Regions from separate parts of the Homo sapiens genome. Here all the other regions are linked to region 2. The links are contacts of gene promoters, found by promoter capture Hi-C in human tissues and cell types (Jung and others, 2019). All regions are on one chromosome and are shown on one strand. The core of a region is centred on a gene start or on the middle of the fragment in contact, and the rest is flanking DNA. Distances in the headings are between cores, read along the strand shown.

Region 1 (3,707 bases), core at 1,054-3,553, 450 kb before region 2:
TCTCCTGCCAAACATGGTATCCCTCACTGTTACTCTAACATGCCAACCTTCTTTCATGTATCTTTGTCTTTGCTCCTGTAGGTCCTTCTGCACAGCAACTTCTGGTCAAATGCCTCCATGGTACTCAGTAATTAACCACAGATCTACTCTAGCACTCTACATTCATTCACAGCCCAGGGAAACCATCAATTCCAGTGTGAAGACTTCCCCCACCTCCCAGGCATTTGTCATTCATTTCTTTCTCCGTACATTTCTTTTTTTTTTTTTTTTTCCACATTCCTTTTAAAGCATTTATCACACACCAGTTTGCTTGAGTTCAAGTTTATCCTAGTTCTCTGGGGATAGTTTGAACACTTATTCATCTTTATGTCACCTATACCCAGCATAGCACTGGACTTCAGAACAGTGGAAAGAATATAGCCTGGCTGTCTAATTGAGGAGCTTTGGTTGAGCATCTCAATCCAAGTCTCAAACTCGGATATGCTTTAACTCTGAGTTGGCCCGCATGCTCTGAGTTAAAATTTGAACTGATTCAATTTTTTTAAATGGGAAAATCCACATAAAGTGTGGATTTCTGACAACTCTTGCCCAAAATTCTGGCAACACTAGATCTTTATTTTCATATGGCAGCCATCAGCTGGAGCTGATTAGATGGCATCTACTCTCCATTTGGCCCATTTCACACTTCTGTTGTCCCTAGCACAAAGACCTGGTGTTGGTTGCTATTTCATCATTCTTTTTCTTAAAGTAAAATTCAAAGTTAAAACTTTCTTACATTGGGTTGTTTCACCTAATCCCTGAAGGCATTTGAGTTTTCAACTCCTGTCTTAACCTCTAAGCCTGACTTCTCATCTGTCAAATCTTCTCATCTGTCAAATGCAAAAAAATAACATTTATCTATAATTCTGAAAAAAAAGCCCTGCAGGGTAAAGCATGCATAGAGAACACTGCCTGGCACATGGAAAGTGTTTGAAAACGGTTAATATAAGGAGCTCAAAAACCATTTACAAAATGAATGAATAGACCAGGCATAGTGGCTCATGCCTGTAATCCTAACACTTTGAGACGCCGAAAGATCGCTTAGTCCAGGAGTCTGGGAACAGCCTAGCCAACATAACAAGACCCAGTCTGTACAAAATCAAATAATTAGCCAGGCATGGTGGCGTGCACCTCCAGTTCCAACTACTTGAGAGGCTGAGGTGGGAGGATCGCTTGAGCCCAGCAGTTGAAGGCTCAGTGAGCTGATTGTGCCACTGCACTCCAGCCTGGGGGACAGAGTGAGACCCTGTTTCAACAAATATATAAGAACTAAAAACTGAATGAATGAATGAACGAACATTCCAACGACCATGTGACTGTTTTGTAAAGAGGAGACTGATGAAGGAAATTATCGCCAAGGTGTTTTTATCCGTTTATGAAAGCCATACTTTGTATTTGGGTTGCTGCAGCTGCTCAAAACAATGGGAGAAACTGCAGTTATAAATTCCAGAAAAGCCTGTGAATGGAGTGAAAGTGGAGTGGGTGGTCAAAAACCAATGGCCGTGGAGGCTTAGCTCTCTTCACAAGGCACACAGCAGGTGCTCAATGAGTGCCTGTTGAATGAATGGCCACGCAGCCCAATGCGTGCCTATGCACCCCTCCTCCTCCAGGCAGCCCTCCGGAGGTCCAGCCTCCTCCCCACCCTCTTGGCCCGCCCCGCCCCGCCCGCCCTTACAGGATGTCTTCGCGGATGGAGGTGCCATGGTTGAGGTTGTGGAAGCGGACGGAGACGCAGTCCCTGAGAATGAAGGAGCACCTGTTCTCCCTTTTGTAGGCGCTGAAGCACTCCTTGAAGTCCTCATAGGTCTTGAAGCAGCTGCCCAGCTCCATGGCCGCCCCCACAACCCACACTAGGGGCTGGTCCCAGCCCGGGCCCAAGATCACACCAGGGGTCAAAGGTCACACTATGAGGGTTTATAGGCAGGCGTGGGCCCAGAATGCCTTAAGGGTCCGCCCCAACTGGGTGGCCTATTCTGGAACTCAGGGAGGAACCCTAGGCCTGACCGGGTTACAAGAGGAAGGGGGTGTATTTGCTATCTGACAGGGGAAATGACACTCAGTCCATATTATCCAGTCCCGAGGTTCCGCCTCCTCAGCGACATATCCAGTCACACACAGGATTCGCAGATTGGCATTCATTTTCTCCAATTGCTAGAGAAAGAGGGCCACAGCCACCAGCGGACTGACAGGAGTCCTGACCAATCATAACCTAGATTCCTCCTTCCCGGGGTCTGCAGGAGACTTCCGGTTACTAGGGCAATCTGCCGGAAGAGTCAGGTTCTGTGTATGTCTCCGCGTCTTCCGCGGAGCGGGTGTGCAGGGCCTGCAGCATTGAACTAGATGTCGTCCCCGCAGGCCCCAGAAGATGGGCAGGGCTGTGGCGACCGCGGCGATCCCCCTGGGGACCTCCGTAGCGTCTTGGTCACGACCGTGCTCAACCTCGAGCCGCTGGACGAGGATCTCTTCAGGTAGCCGGCAGCTCCTGCCCAGCATCCCCTCCTTTAGGGCAGAAACTTGATCTTGACTGCCGCCGCCCGGGGCCCCTGGCTCCGGGACTAGTATGGCTCTGCGTGGGATGCACCCTCTGCCACGATTAGGAGAGAACTCGCCCCCAACAGAGCTGTCCTCTCTGCTCTGGCTTCCTCCCTTCCTCTCCGCGCTGCGAGGTCTGCACAGCTGAGCAAATATAGTGGTGACCTGAGAGACCCTGCTCGGCAGCCTGCCCTAAGCCTTCACGGGGGAGCTAGCCCAGAGAGGGCAGTGATTTGCCCAAGGGCACACAGCTGATGGATCAGCCTTAAAACCGACGCCGCAGCTCCTTGTGTCTTCAGTATCCTTTTCTTCTCACAATATCCCGCCCCCAGTACCATTTGGTGGGTCTGGTTTCTCATTACTTATTCTGAGGCCTAAGCATGTTTTTTTCTTTCCCAGCATCGCTGAAGTTCTTGACTGCAGCAAGGGTTTCTTTCTTTCTTTGAGGCGGAGTCTTGCTCTGTTGCCCAGGCTGGAGTGCAGTGGTGCGATCTCGGCTCAGTGCAACCTCCGCCTCCCGGGTTCAAGCATTTCTCCTGCCTCAGCCTCCTGATTAGCTGGGACATACAGGCGCGCCACAGCCCAGCTAATTTTTTAACTTCTTTTAGTAGAGACGGGGTTTCACCGTGTTGGCCAGGCTGGTCTCGAACTCCTGACCTTGTAATCTGCCCACCTCTGCCAAAGTGCTAGGATTACAGGCATGAGCCACCGCGCCCAGCCCCCTGCAGCAAGGCTTCTAACAGCTTTGACCTCCAAGGCTTCTCCTGGCTTTACTGGAAGTTATCTTACTTTGAGCTCCCTTCCTTCCACTTAAGGAATTGTAAATAACTTCTTGGAGGGCTATTTGATTTTTGTTTTTGAAGACAAGATCTGGCCCTGTTGTCCAGGCTGGAGTGCAGTGGCACGAACATGGCTCACTGCAACCTCGACCTCCTGGGCCCAAGTGACCCTTCTGCCTCAGTCTCCCGTTTAGCTGGGACCATAAGCGCTTGCCACCACATCCAGCTAACTTTTTTATTTTTAGTAGACATGAGGCCCCACTTTGGAGCCCAGGCTGGTTTTGAACTCATGGGCTCAGGCGATCCTCCCACCTCGGCTTCCCAAAGTGCTGGGATTGATTACAGGCGAGAGCCACC
Region 2 (3,710 bases), core at 319-2,818:
ACTAAAGTCCACAGTGGGGCAGAGACTTGTCCAAAGTGACTTTGCCAATCCAGCAAAGAGCCAGGATTAAGATCACCATCTCCTGACTGCCAGCTCCTTCCACGTCATTACACCATGTCTGGGATCTACAGTCAGGTCAATGAATGGCAAGAGTTCAAGTTCCACCTACATCACTTATTGCTGCTGAGTGGCTTTGAGCAAGTCACTTTCCCTTTCAAGGACTCTGTTCCTCCTCTGCAAAATAAAAGGGATACCTACATCCCCAAAGGGTTTTGGGAATAAAACCTAAGAATGCTTATAAAATGTCTGGCATAGTAAGCCATCAATAAATAGTAGCAGTTTTAATTAAAAGAATATCTATCTTACAAGTTAAGCATATGGGCTTTGGAGTCAGACAGACATGAATTCCAGTTTATCTACCTTCTGGCTACAATGTGACTTAACTTCTCTGAGCCTAATTTCCTGCTTATAAAATAGAGATTATATCACCTACCCTGACAGGACGTTGTAAGGATTGAGATAATATATGTAAAGTACTTTAGTACAGTATTGGAACCTACTAAAGTACTCAATACATATTAATATCATTATAATGACTAAAACTACTTAAGTTGCCAAATATAAAAATTACAATTTTACATTATTTTAATTATAGTGACTAATTATATTAATATAACAAATGTAAAATTAAAGAAGAGATTGACCGTTCCCAGAATTTTGGATTAGAGATGTGTAACCCAGTTCTCCCTCAGGGTCAACTTCCCTAAAATCAGAACAGGCAGCTGTTTCATTGGTAGAAACACCCACTTCCAGCCCTTACTTGTGTACTTCCCCAGCCCAGCCTTGTAGCCTCGTTTCAGAGCCTGACATCCGGCTCTGGCTGACTGGCACTGAAGTCCCCAAAGCAGAGGGGCATACCAGACGACTGGGGGGTTGGTGGAGGATCTTCGCAAGGCAAGAACACATCTGCTGCATCCGGGTCCCCAAGGTCAATAAGTTCTACTTGCTCCAGTGTGTCCACATTCACTTCCATGGATGAGATACTACCTATGGGGGCTGCGGATCAAGAAGTGGGCAAGTCAGGAGGACCCAAGCTGCACACCAGGACAGTGAGAGTTACATGTCAGGTCCCAAGTTAGAAGCATAGAGGGCCAAGAAAACCAGAGGGGAGAGAGTGCCACAAGATTCAGGACCCACAGGACATCCTCCCTACCCTACCCCAGTCCCTCTTCTCAGGACTTGGGACTTACGTCTCTGCGACTCGAGATGCAGATGGGACAGAGGAAAGACAAACTCTGTCTCTGGCTGTAAAATGTCCTCGAAGAATTTTTGCCGCTCCCGAAGGCGGAGCTGCTGGCGCTCCAGGGCGGCCCGAGGATTTGGGTCCATGTCAGCTCCTGCGGGTAGAGGAGCAAAACAAGTACAGCTGCAAAGTCGAAAGAGAAGACAGAGGGGACCTGGGCTTGGGGCGCCCCACTGCAGCCAGCATCCCAACAGTGGGGCCCCTGGCTCCGGCCTGGACACCTCTGCCCTTGGTGACCTCTTTCCCCTTCCCTGAAACCAAGTGTGTCCCACAAACCAAGTCTCATGCAGAGGCGGGGCTTGCCCTAAGCTCCACAAAGGGGATGCCAGTTCCAGGCACCACAAGAGAGATACTCTGTATTCAGGGAACACAGCCAATGCCCAACTCTCCATATCATGCCCTCCTGAGAGGGGTTGGAGGGATTGGTTCAGCACAAATGGAGGAGGTACGTTTTCCCCTTAATTGGCCCCGCTTGCCTCAGAAGGCCAGGGACAGGATAGGATAGAGACAGAGATCTCAGGGTGGAGGGTTCCCTTCCTCCAGTGCTGCAGCCCACCCCTTCCCATCCTTCAAAACCCAGACAAAGGCTAAAGCAACTCCTCCCGCGCCCCTCCTTTTCTCTCCACCCACACAAACACGTACACACGCATGTGCCATCTACCCCAAACCCTTGCTCTGAAGTCACAGGCCTGACTTCCAGACTAGGCTCTGCCCCTAAGGAAATCACCTTTCTGGTCTTAGTCTCCCCATCTGAAAATGGCATAACCAACCTACCTGCCTCAAATACAAGACCCTGCTTGTGAAGGTGAGCTATTTAGGAGACTACCATCTTTCCTTTGAACTCCAACAGCTCTTTATGCGTCCCCCTCCTGGGACACATCTCACTGACTTATCTCCCCATTAGTCAGTGAGGAGCAATTGGAAAGGCGGGTTCTGGGTCCAGTTCAGAGCAGGCCTCCTGACCCCTAGGGCTGAGAAGCTGAGACCCTGCCAGAGCACTGAGGCTATGGGCCAGCCCAGGTCGGTGCATTCATTCCCATTCGCTCATCTCCTTCCCGGCGTTCTGCTCTGAGCCCATCACCAGAGGCAAGGGAGTTTCTAGCTTGAGGATCAGACGTCATCCTCCGCAGACTGCCTTCCCCACCTCATCTGCACCCAGCGTATCCCAGACCCTGGCCAGCTCCACGGGCGCCACAGAGGTGGAGAGGGACCCAACCCCGACTGGCCAAGGCAGGGCCACGGAAGTCTGGGGAGACCGTGCGGCCGCGGGCTGGCGGCGGAGGAGCGAGGCGCTGACGCCGATTCCCGGGAAAGGCTCTTAGAGCTGCCGCCCAGGTCACAACGCTAAAAATACCCAGGGCCCCTGGAGCCTGTGCTCCAGCAGCGAGGAGGGGGAGGGAGAGGCCAAGGTGGGGGAGCTGACGGGGGCCAGGGGCTCTGGGACACCCCCTCTCTTTTCCCCTCCCCCTAACCCCACCGATCTCACGAGACTGAAGGAGCTGTCCCCCGGGGGGCCGCGGAGCCCAGAGCTGGAGAAAGGGAGTTGTTTACGCGACCTATAGGTACTGGAAAGGGGGTGAAGAGATTTGGGGGCAGGAGGCTGCCAGGGGCCGGGCAGGAGCCAGCGAAATGGAGAACTCCCTCTCGGTCTCAGCCCCACCCGCACTGGAGCCAGCAAGAGGGAAAAAATTCCCTAAAAAGGGACACGAGGCGTCGGCGGAGGACGGGGGGAGGGCGCTCCCCCAAGGCCGTTCCCCTCGTGCTCCGGTCCCCTCCGCGGTCCACCGCGGCACCTGCGCCCACCGCCGCCGGAGCCCCTACCTGCAGCGCTGGCGCCCCCTCTGACTCAGTCCGTCCGCTCCAGCGAGGCCGCGGCGGGGGCGTGGGAGCGAGCCGCGCCGGCCGGGGTGGGGCTGCGCCTCCAGGGCTCCCGGGGGACCGACGGGCCCTGGGAGCCGGGAACGAGGAAGAGGCGGGAGGCGGAAGTGGGGGAGGGGCGGTGGCGGGCTCACTCGCTCGCAGCTCGCCCGGCGGTCGGAGGCAGCCCCTGCGAGCGCGGCTACTGGTACTTCCAAGGCGGTCAAAAAGTTACCCGCACCCATCCTTCCTCCCTCCGCCCAGCCGGACTCCTCTGCACCACCCTCGCCACCGACGCCGGTGCGCTAGTCTCCGCTCGCTCGGATGCACTTGCTGCGCCCCCGCCCCGCGCAGACCCGCGGCGGGCGCCCGCGCCGGTTCTGCCCACGCACACTTGATGCTCTGCGCCTTTTGGGCAGCGCCCACGCAACGACTACGCACCCGAACCCTGCCTCCGGCACCCTTGGCCACACTCGCCACACTTACACGCGCGCACTTCTCCAGAGGACGCACGATGGGAAAGAGAGAGTTGGGACCCGCAGGAGGGGGC
Region 3 (3,569 bases), core at 1,070-3,569, 500 kb before region 2:
TAATAGTGCCAGTCTGACAGGTTGTTAAGGTTAAATAAATTACCTAGAATTCGGATGACCAGTTGTAAGGTTTCCCAGGGACTGAGTGGGTTCCCAGGAATGGTTTCAAAATGGGGATGGCTGGATGTGTGGCTCACGCCTGTAATCCCAGCACTTTGGGAGCCCAAGGCAAGAGGATCACTTGGGTCCAGGAGTTCAAGATCAGCCTGGGCAACATGGTGAGACCTGTCTCTACAAAAAATACAAAACTTAGCTGGACATGACATGGTACCACCTGCCTGTAGTCCTAGCTACTCAGGAGGCTGAGGTGGGAAGATCGCTTGAGCCCAAGAGGTGGAGGCTTCAGTGAGCCGTGATTGTACCACTGCACTCCAGCCTGGGCAACAGAGCAAGACCCTGTCTCTAAAAATATAAATAGGCGGCCGGGCGCGGTGGCTCACGCCTGTAATCCCAGCACTTTGGGAGGCCAAGGCAGGTGGATTGCCTGAGGTCAGGCGTTCGAAACCAGCCTGGCCAACATAGCGAAACCATATCTCTACTAAAAATACAAAAAATTAGCTGAGCGTAGTGGTGGGTGCCTGTAATCCCAGCTACTTGGGAGGCTGAGGTAGGAGAATTGCTTGAACCTGGTAGGCGGAGGTTGCAGTGAGCCGAGATTGCGCCATTGCACTCCAGCCTGGGCAACAAGAGAGAAACTCCATCTTAAATAAATAAATAAAAATAAATAAATAGGCTGGGCATGGTGGGTCACACCTGTAATCCCAGCACTTTGGGAGGCTAAGGCAGGCGGATCACTTGAGGGCAGGAGTTCAAGACCAGCCTGGCCAAAATGGCAAAACCCTGTCTCCACTAAAAATACAAAAATTAGCCAGGTGTGGTGGCACATGGCTGTAGTCCCAGCTACTTGGGAGGCTGAGGCAGGAGAATCACTTGAACCCAGGAGGCAGAGGTTGCAGTGAGCCAAGATCACACCACCGCACTGCAGCCTGGTGACAGAGCACGACTGTGTCTCAAAAAAATTAATTAATTAATTAAATAAAAAAGGAAATGGAACTATTTTTGTGAATCTGTGGATTATATCAGAAAAAAAAGACACAATGGGGAAAGTCCTAGGCAAATCAGGATGAGTTAGTCATCCTTCCTAGATGAGTGTTTGGTGCTAAATACATGCTCAGCAGACATGATTATTGCTTCCCCTTTCTTTCGTCCATTTGGCAACAAAAAGGTGGCAAGCACCCACTCTGTGCCCTGTCCTAGGGTCCGGGAACCCTGTAAGCAGTAGATGGAGGTGGGGGTGGGGGTGGGGGCGGGGATGCTGTTCAGAGCACCTTGCTCCAAGGGTTCATTAAAAAATCCACCAGTGGACCGGGCGCGGTGGCTCATGCCTTTAATCCCAGCACTTTGGGAGGCCGAGGCGGGCGGATCACAAGGTCAGGAGATCGAGACCATCCTGGCTAACACGGTGAAACCCCGTCTCTACTAAAAATACAAAAAAAATTAGCCGGGCGTGGCAGCGTGCGCCTGTAGCCCCAGCTGCTGGGGAGGCTGAGGCAGGAGAATGGCGTGAACCCGGGAGGCGGGGCTTGCAGGGAGCCGAGATCGCGCCACTGCACTCCAGCCTGGGGGACAGAGCGAGACTCCGTCTCAAAAAATAAAAATAAAAAAAATAGAAAAAACAATCCACCAGCCACGATAAATGGCAGACCTCCTTCTGATTTCAGCCGGTGTGGTATGTTCCTGGGCTGACAGCACTTGTCTAGTCTTGCTTTCCCAAGTGGGAAAGGTCTCTGGGACCTTAAGGTCCCCAGGTGGTGACACAGAGACAGGTAGGGGGGCCCATAGCAAAGCCAGGCAAGGAGGTCCCGAGATGATTGTGGGTGGCAGGGAAAGAAAAAATATTCCTTGACTTTGTGCCTGGACCTGGTTGTAATAAAGGCCCAAGAGGTAGTTCCTATCATCGTGCACATTTCGCTGAAGGAAGAAACTGAGGGTCAGTGACCCAAGTGAAGTGACTTGCCCAAGATCATGCAGGAAGACATGGATAATTGTAATTTGAACCAAGGTCCCAGCAAAGTGGGATTGTTGGGGCTGAGTGGGCCGGCTCCTGCATTTCCTTCCCTCTCCCTGGGCTTGGGTCTCCCACTTGTCCAGACAGCGGCCGGGCTTGTCACGGGGCTCTGTGCAGCCTTTTCCACTCTCCCGGCTGCCAGCGTCCCGCCCCGTCCCCTCCCAGCCCCCAAGGGAGGAGGGGAGAGCTGCAGAGAGGAGGAGGGGTCGGGGAGGCCGGCTTTATAAAGGCGGCTGGAACAACCCTGCCCGCCAGACCCCGTCGCCCGGATCCCCTGAGCTGCCCGCCATCCCACGTGACCGCGCCGCCCCCCAGCTCCACCGCTGAGTGAGTTGGGGCGCGTCCCTATCCCGTTCCCAGTCCCTCGCCGAGCCGCGTGGTGCACTGAAGCCGGCGTGGGGAGGAGAGCCGATGAAGGAGAACGCTAACATGGGGGCTCCAGGCAGAATCTCTAATGGGAGAGATTTAGGACCTGAGGGAGCCGGGAGACCCGGGAGCCCACGGTCTGGTCGGCCACCTCCTCTCCTCCCCGGGCGCGAGGCCTAGGAGACCGCAAGCCACCCTCCAAGAATGCGCGTGCAGTCGTTGCCGTGGCAACGTGCAAGCCTGCATGGGCCCACCGCTAAAGGAAAGGGGAGGTTGTTGGGGGTGTGGGGGCTGGTCCCCTGGAGGTCCAAACTCATCACGCGGCGGTAGCACGAGGGAACTGGGAACGTCCCCTCCCCCGTGTCCCAAATCCTCTGGGAGCCAGAACGCAAGTCGCATCGCCTCTCTGAGCCTCAGTTTCCACATCTGCCATATGGAGGCAAGATTATTGGTTCCAAGTTCCCCGAAGAGTTATCTGGAGGGTAACGATCCAGGCTAGTTCCCACTTATGGTTGGACGTCCAAGGAATGGGTTTAAGCGGCTCAGATAACTCCTGCGACCCCACCCCACCCCCAGGCCCGCTCGCCATGGCCCTCTTCGGGGCCCTCTTCCTAGCGCTGCTGGCAGGCGCACATGCAGAGTTCCCAGGCTGCAAGATCCGCGTCACCTCCAAGGCGCTGGAGCTGGGTAAGGCGCAGGGGCAGACAGGGACGGACGGGAGCGGACGGGGTTGGGGTCGCCCCAACAGTGGGCACGGGAGCTAAGTAAGGGTTTCTCTGCTGCTTCAGTGAAGCAGGAGGGGCTGCGCTTTCTGGAGCAAGAGCTGGAGACTATCACCATTCCGGACCTGCGGGGCAAAGAAGGCCACTTCTACTACAACATCTCTGAGTAAGTGGGGGGCGGGGCCTCGCGATCCGGGGCGGGGCCTCGGCGGTGGAGGCGGGGCCCGAGAAATCTCAGGGTCTCGGGAGACTGGAGGCTGAGTGGGATGGGGCGTGGCCAAATCGATGAGGCAAGACTTAAGAAACCGGATGGGGCCGAAAAGATAAAGGCCAAGCCAGTCATCATAGGCGGGACCAGGCAGATGGGCGTGGCCTTGAAAATGTAGAGGGGGCCAAGAAGGAAGCAGGACCAG
Region 4 (3,745 bases), core at 624-3,123, 460 kb after region 2:
TGAAGTAGGAGAATCGCTTGAACCCAGGAGGCGGAGGTTGCAGTGAGCTGTTATCATGCCACTGCACTCCAGCCTGGGTGACAGAGTGAGACCCTGTCTCCAAAAAAAAAAAGGAATTCTTCTGTGTTCAAAGTTTAAAACGGGCTACTATTCTAAAACTTGGTGATTTACAACAACCATTTTATTTTGCTTGTAATTTGTGGAGTCAGGAATTAGGGAAGGGCAGTTCTCATTTGGGGTCTCTCATGCAGGGTCAGCAAGATGGTAGCTGGGGCTGGAATCCTCTAAAGCCTTCTTCCTCGAATGTCTGGCAGCTGGGCTGCCTGACTCAAATGGCTGGGTGATGGAACTGCTAGAGCAAGCTGGCACCTCTTTCCACTTTCTTAGCAGCCTTTTCATGTGTGCTGCTGTGAGCTTCCTGAGAGCGTGGTGGCCTCAGAGTAGTTGGCTTCTTCCCTGTCAGTTCAAGGCTCCAAGAGCGAGTGTTTCCAGAGACCAAGGTGGAAGCTGCAAGGCCTATTATGACCTAACCTTGGAAGTCACATCGTGTCCCTTCCTCTGTCCTCTGTTGGTCAGAGCAGTCACAGAGCCTGCCCGAATTCAAAGAGAGAGAGCAGATACACCTCCGCCTCTCAGTGGAGGATTGCCAAAGAATTTGTGCCTGTCTTTTAAGTTGTTACAAGAAGATTTTTCTCTCCGTTAATTTATGAATTCCATGCAATCACAAAGGACTAGTAGAATTTTCTTCTTTAAATTCATGATAAGTCAGAAAAAAATGAGAACAACGACATGAGAGAATCTGGTGTATAATAAAGTCTGGGGCAAAGAGAGATTATTTAATAAGAGGTGTTGGGTTGGCCAGGTTAGAGTTAAACTTGAATCCTACCTTGCTTCTTATTTTAAAGTAAGTTCTGAGTGGATCACAGTTTGGAATGTAAAAAGCGAAACCATTAAGTTCTAGAAGAACACATGGATTAACTATCTTGCAGTGGGGAAGGTATTCTTATGTGAAGGGAAAAAAATGTTACAGAAGTCGTTAAAGGAAAAGTTAGAGAAGTTTGATTTCAAAAGATTAAAAACCCTTATTAAAGATGTTCAGCTTTACCCACAACTAAGCAGCTAAGGCAGTGAGATAGTGTTTTATTCCATATTGGCATACATGAAAATTTAAGACCCAAAGTTGGTACAGTTGTAGGAAAATAGGCTCTGTCAATAACTATTCAGCTTTTTTGGAAAGCATTTTGGCAGTAACAATCAGATTTTATTTCTTTTTTTGTTTTGTTTTGTTTAAGAGATGGGGTCTCCCTATGTTGCCCAGGCTGGTCTCAAACTCCTGGGCTCAAGTGACCTTCCCACCTTGGCCTCCCAAAGTGCTGGGATTATAAGCATGAGCCACTGCACCTGGCCAGTCAGGTTTTAAAATGCATGTATCTTTGGATACAGCAGTCCCTTGCACAAGGATGTTCATCATGGCATCACTTATTTACAAACTGGAAACAATGAAAAATACCTCTTGATAGGAAATTGGTAAAATAAATTATGCTACATCCAACTTAGTGAATACCCTGCACCCACTGAAAACAGTGAGGTGGAACAGATGAACTTATGTAATGAGCGCCCAGACATCTGACTGTTTTGTTTTTAGTGACTGTCTTTGGAGAGAAGGACTAGATCTGAATGAGGAAGATATATACACACATGCACTTTTTTGAACCCACAGATGCAGAATATATTGTATGGATGCACATAACTTTTTTCCAACATTTTATTATGAAAATGTTCAAAATATAGGAAAGTTGAAAGATTTGTACATTGAACACCCATAGACCTACCATCTAAATTCTACAATTAGTATTATTACATTGCCTTATCACTATTTAGCCATCTGTTGGTCTGTATTATTGTGTTTGATGCACTTAAAAGTAAATTGCAAACGTCTTTACATTTCACCCCATGTCAGCATTATATCATTAGAGTTCAGTAGTTGTTGGGTTTTTTTTTCCCCCTTAAAGTAGATAATTTTTTAATCTGTCAAGGGAAAAGTTTCAGGAAACCTTTTCTTTGCTTGAAAGAGCTCAGTATAGGAGAGCGCAGTACAGCATGATAGAACTAGATGAGATCAGGATCTGGAGTCCCATGAACGAACGCCCGCCTATTTGAATCCTGGGTCTGCCCCTTAATACTGGCGGTACCTGGCCCAAGTTCCTTTACCCTTCTGAGCCAGCATGTTTCATCCATGAAAAGGGCTAGGATTGTTGTGAGGATTTAAGAAGACATAAAGTAACCAGCACAGAGTAGGTGTTCAGCAAATTGGAGATCACTTCTCAAACTACTGCGTGGCATGTGGGTGGCCCATAAGACGTGACTGAAACCTCTGAAATGGTCTTTCCCTTCAGAGCACTCTGCTATTTGGTCCTGAAGCAGTACACAGAAGCAGTGAAGGACTGCACAGAAGCCCTCAAGCTGGATGGAAAGAACGTGAAGGCATTCTACAGACGGGCTCAAGCCCACAAAGCACTCAAGGTAAAAAAAAATCCTGGCCAAAAGGTCCCAACATAGCTACAGAGATTTATGCCAGTGTCACCATTTACAGGGTGTAGCCAAGCTGAGACAATATCTGCAGCTTTTCCTTCTCATCCTGGGCCCAGGATAACTCAGAGCAGGCCTGTGGGCTGGGGTTTGAAAACACTTTGCTGCCTCAGCAGCTATCCCCACCCCAGTCCGGGAACCTTCCCCCACACTCCTGTCTTTTCTTCTATTAGGACTATAAATCCAGCTTTGCAGACATCAGCAACCTCCTACAGATTGAGCCTAGGAATGGTCCTGCACAGAAGTTGCGGCAGGAAGTGAAGCAGAACCTACACTAAAAACCCAACAGGGCAACTGGAACCCCTGCCTGACCTTACCCAGAGAAGCCATGGGCCACCTGCTCTGTGCCCGCTCCTGAAACCCAGCATGCCCCAAGTGAGCTCTGAAGCCCCCTCCTCAATCCCTTGATGGCCTCCCACCCTGTAAGAGGCTTTGCTTGTTCAAATTAAACTCAGTGTAGTCAAACACAGACATGGTTGTTGCACCAGAAAGGTCCCCACTAGAGCTAAGCGTGAAGCTGAAGCTCTGTCCCTATTCCCCCAGCCCAGCTAGCTGATCACACCAACAGATCCTCATCAGCAAAGCATTTGGCTTTGTCCTGCCCAAGTGGGCTGCAGACTGAGTGCTGCCCTTGTAGCTTCCCCAGACCCCAACTCACTGCAGTTCATCTGAACAACCTGAGCTCCTGGGCCGGGGTGGAAGGAGGGGGATAAACCTAAGGCCCTGATCCAAAGCAGCCTGTTGAGCTGGTTCTCCAGGGCTGCAGTCTCTCCAGGTGTACAGCTGCTGTCCCTGCCCTGTCCTGTCCTTGCACAGTCTCCTATGTCTGAGCCCCAGTGCCTTCTGTTCGGGCCCTCCTTTGGTGGGAAGGCAGAGCCCTGACCCTTGAATGGTTGTCCTTGACTCTGTGCTGCTGCCTTCTGCAGAGAGGCACCTAAGCTGTTTAAAGAGCCCAGTGATTGTGGCTGCTCCTCCTAGAGGTGGGAGGGGGCAAGAGGCCTCCTTGGTCAGTGTCCATGCTTTCTGGGCAGGGACTTGGTTTTTTGTTCCAACAGTGGCCTTCTCCGGGCTTCATAGTTCTTTGTAATATGTTGAAGTTAATTTGAATTGACTGATTTTGTTGAACTGTGTGTTTAAGCTGTTGCATTAAAAAGCT
Region 5 (3,441 bases), core at 23-2,522, 470 kb before region 2:
GGGACCTGGCTCTTCAATTATTCATCCACACAATATTTGTTGAACACTTACTATATGTCAGCACTGTTCTAGGGGAAGATACACAATAAACATGTAAACAAATAAGCAAATATATATCCAATAATGAAGCTTACAAAGACCATAAACCTGAGTAACATGTCAGAGAGTAAGCTGGGGAAGGGAGGGATACTTTAGTTAAAGTGGTAATGGAAGGCCTCTCAGGGGAGAAGGATGACATTGGAGCTGAAATCTAAATGATAAGAAGTTAGCTATGGAAAGATATGGTTCCAGGGGATTTAAATAGGTATGGCCAGAGCTGCATATGGCCTTTTAAAAAAATAGCATTCTAGCCAGGTGCAGTGGCTCACACCTGTAATCCCAGTACTTTGGGAGGCCAAGGTGGGCAGATAACTTGAGGTTGGGAGTTCGAGACCAGCCTGGCCAACATGGTGAAAACCCGTCTCTACTAAAAATACAAAAAGAATTAGCCGGGTATGGTGGCCCATGCCTGTAGTCTCAGCTACTCGGGAGGCTGAGGCAGGAGACCTGCTTGAACCCAGGAGGCTGAGGTTGCAGTGAGCCGAGATTGCGCCACTGCACTCCAGCTCTGGGTGACAGAGTGAAACTCTGTCTCAAAAAATAAAATAAAATAAAAATACGATTTTATATTTATAAATGACTGATTGGCATCCATTCTTTCCTTTGGTCCTGGTATGTATAAGAGAACTGCAATTGCTCCAAACTTGCTGTGTTATCTTGGGCAAGTCAATGACCCTCTCTGAGCCTCAATCCCTTCCACCATAAAATATGGCTAACAAATGTGCATAGCTTCTCCTGCCTCTACTATATCCCTCTTTTAGCAGCAATACTCTATTCCATTGTTTCCTCTATTTGGCCCCAGACCGAGTTACTGTCCTCATTTTACAGATGATAAACTAAGGCTCAAAGAAGCTAAGTGACTTGCCCACCATTACTCTGTAAGTAGCTGAAAGTTGAGTCTTTGGTTCGGGATCCTGACTGCTGTCCACAGTACCTGGGGTCCAAAAACCAACAGAGGGAATACGGCCTTTGACCTCTCACCTCTAACCTGGGTGGGAGATGTGGATGTCTGACATTCCCAGAGTCCAGCTGGAGCCGGATGAGAAGAAAACCTCCCTCCCATCCCTTTGGGAGCTGTGTGACGGCTAACTGCGGTGATCCGCTGTCTCACACTTTCACCCCTTCAGGAAGCACTCACCCACAGCCAGGCTCCGTCGCCATTTCTCCCTATTTGACCCTGCCTCCGACTCTGACTGACATCCAAACTCACCAACCACAGCGTCAGCATCGCAGTGACTCGGACCAATGTCTGAGGAATTCGCTTTCAGGCTTTAGCACCACGGACCAATCGTAGCGTGACGATTCGCGGGCGGGCCGTGTTGCCAGGGTTACAAGGAGCTGGCTGGAGGTAAAGATACTTGCATCTGGGAGAGCTGAGCCTTGAAGCTGGAGCTCCGGGGCTTCCCTTCAGGCTAGGCGACTGGAAGGACACGTTACTATGGAAACTCCCTCAAAAGCAGAAAATGAAAAGGAAAATAAATAGCAGTTATATATATATTTTTTCTTTTTCTTTTTTTGAGATGGAGTCTCGCACTGTCGCCTGGGATGGAGTGCAGTGGCAAGATCTCGACTCACAGCAACCTCCGCCTCCCAGGTTCAAGCGATGATTCTCCTGCCTCAGCCTCCTGAGTAGCTGGGATTACAGGCACCCGCCACCACGCCCAGTTAATTTTTTGTATTTTTAGTAGAGACGGGGTTTCACCCTGTTGGCCAGGCTGGTCTCGAACTCCTGGCCTCGTGATTCGCCCACCTCAGCCTCCCAAAGTGCTGGGATTACAGGCGTGAGCCACCGCGGGTTTTGTTTTGTTGTGTGTGTGTGTGTGAAACTCTAAAGCCCCTGGAATTTAGGAAACAGTGCATATATAGTCATAACGCATATTCTACCTTATGGGGAAACTGAGTTCCAGGTCTCAAATTCTACTCCTCCTTCGGGGATCAGGAGCCCAACTTTTAGAGCTGAGGAAATCCAGATCCCCTTAAACAAGCCAAAACTTGGCATTCTCTAGCCCAACCCCCTCCAGTATTCTACAGAATGATGCCATGACTTATTTAGGGTCCTACTACAGTAGTGCAAGGGCCTACTAACTGGTCTCTTGTCCTCAGTTCCCTTGAAGATGGCAGACTTAGAAAACTGGGTGTTTACCAGGCCTTGGAGGATTAAGATTACCAACTAGCAACATCAAATCAGTGTTGGTACTTACGCATCGAAAATGTTATTGGGCTGGGTGCAGTAGGTCATCCCTTTAATCCCAGCACTTTGAGAGGCTGAGGCAGGTGGATTGCCTGAGATCGGGAGTTCAAGACCAGCCCGACCAACATGGTGAAACCCCATCTCTAAATACAAAAAATTAGGCAGGCGTGGTGGCACATGCTTATAATCCCAGCTACTCAAGAGGCTGAGGCAGAATCGCTTGAACCCAGTAGGCAGAGGTTGCAGTGAGCCGAGATTCTGCCATTGCACTCTAGCCTGGGCAACAAGCAACAAGAGCGAAACTCCATCTCAAAACAAAAAACAAAAAGGTGCTTATGTAAACCTAGAGGGGAAATCTGGGATTAGAACAGGCCAACATGCTAATTTTTACAGAGGAAACTGAGGTCAAAGAAATTGCCCACAGTTCCCCAGCAAGTTGCTGGCAGTCAAGTCTAAGATTCAGGTTTTTCCCCCACACCCTCCAGTCTATTTGGCCTCTTCCCGCTAGAATATAAGGAAACCTGAAATCAACCTTGAAGGCTTAGTTGTAGGAAGGAGGCAAATTAAGACGCAGATTGCCAAATCCTTGAATGTGAGGCATCAGGTTCTATTTGGCTCCACAACCCCATTAGGTTGCTAATACTTAATTTTCTTTTCTTTTTTTTTTGTTGTTGTTTTTTGCTTGAGATAGAGTCTCACTCTGTCACCCAGGCTGGAGTGCGGTGGCACGATCTAGGCTCACTGCAACCTCCGCCTCCTGGGTTCAAGCGATTCTCCTGCCTCAGCCTCCCAAGAAGCTGGGATTACAGGTGCGCCACCACGCCTGGCTAATGTTTGTATTTTTAGTAGAACAGGGTTTCGCCATGTTGGCCAGGCTGGTCTCGAACTCCTGACCTCAGATGATCCATCCACCCGCCTCGACATCCCAAAGTGCTGGGATTATGAGTGTGAGCCACTGCGCCTGGCCTCAATTTTCTTTAAAATTAATAAATCCACCTAGAGCAGCCACTTCCTAACTGTAAAGTCGAGTCCTATTGCTATGCAATTCCTCTTCCTTCCCTGATCAAGCAGAACACATTTCCCTTGTTTAATTTTATTAAAAACAACTTTAATATGAATAAAAAGTTACAAATAAGATTCTTCATAAAGAG

What was found. The method cuts DNA at HindIII sites, captures the fragments that hold promoters and counts their contacts. A contact is called where the count stands out against the background at its distance.
Region 1: a contact is called between the fragment with the promoter of ACOT8 here and the fragment with the promoter of DBNDD2 in region 2, in 1 of the 25 tissues and cell types used here (dorsolateral prefrontal cortex).
Region 3: the fragment with the promoter of PLTP here is called in contact with the fragment with the promoter of DBNDD2 in region 2 in 1 of the 25 tissues and cell types used here (neural progenitor cells).
Region 4: a fragment that was not itself captured here is called in contact with the fragment with the promoter of DBNDD2 in region 2 in 2 of the 25 tissues and cell types used here (dorsolateral prefrontal cortex and spleen).
Region 5: the fragment with the promoter of ZSWIM1 here is called in contact with the fragment with the promoter of DBNDD2 in region 2 in 3 of the 25 tissues and cell types used here (IMR-90 fibroblasts, aorta and mesendoderm cells).

What each region holds. Positions count from the first base shown.
Region 1 is chr20:45,855,988-45,859,694 of GRCh38, reverse strand. It overlaps ACOT8 (acyl-CoA thioesterase 8), which reads left to right and starts at 2,303. Exons shown (of 6, transcript NM_005469.4): 1 at 2,303-2,507. The coding sequence starts at 2,380. ZSWIM3 (zinc finger SWIM-type containing 3) reads right to left here and starts at 2,081. Exons shown (of 2, transcript NM_080752.4): 1 at 1,715-2,081. The coding sequence starts at 1,869. The HindIII fragment of the contact is 14,613 bases long and covers 1-3,707 here.
Region 2 is chr20:45,406,147-45,409,856 of GRCh38, reverse strand. It overlaps DBNDD2 (dysbindin domain containing 2), which reads right to left and starts at 1,568. Exons shown (of 3, transcript NM_001048225.4): 1 at 1,251-1,568; 2 at 919-1,056. The coding sequence starts at 1,389. SYS1-DBNDD2 (SYS1-DBNDD2 readthrough (NMD candidate)) reads right to left here. Exons shown (of 6, transcript NR_003189.2): 4 at 1,251-1,397; 5 at 919-1,056. It overlaps LOC107985404 (a long non-coding RNA gene), which reads left to right and starts at 1,968. Exons shown (of 5, transcript XR_007067608.1): 1 at 1,968-2,108; 2 at 3,425-3,710. RefSeq lists an enhancer at 2,431-2,980. The HindIII fragment of the contact is 23,713 bases long and covers 1-3,710 here.
Region 3 is chr20:45,910,905-45,914,473 of GRCh38, reverse strand. It overlaps PLTP (phospholipid transfer protein), which reads left to right and starts at 2,319. Exons shown (of 16, transcript NM_006227.4): 1 at 2,319-2,395; 2 at 3,011-3,121; 3 at 3,223-3,322. The coding sequence starts at 3,022. The HindIII fragment of the contact is 16,312 bases long and covers 1-3,569 here.
Region 4 is chr20:44,942,231-44,945,975 of GRCh38, reverse strand. It overlaps TOMM34 (translocase of outer mitochondrial membrane 34), which reads left to right. Exons shown (of 7, transcript NM_006809.5): 6 at 2,397-2,523; 7 at 2,763-3,745. The coding sequence ends at 2,867. Among named protein-coding and RNA genes, the nearest start is that of TOMM34, 16 kb to the left of the region's middle. The HindIII fragment of the contact is 5,142 bases long and covers 1-3,745 here.
Region 5 is chr20:45,879,058-45,882,498 of GRCh38, reverse strand. ZSWIM1 (zinc finger SWIM-type containing 1) reads right to left here and starts at 1,272. Exons shown (of 2, transcript NM_080603.5): 1 at 1,238-1,272. It overlaps ZSWIM3 (zinc finger SWIM-type containing 3), which reads right to left. Exons shown (of 2, transcript NM_080752.4): 2 at 3,377-3,441. RefSeq lists enhancers at 1,183-1,262, 1,513-1,562. The HindIII fragment of the contact is 12,007 bases long and covers 1-3,441 here.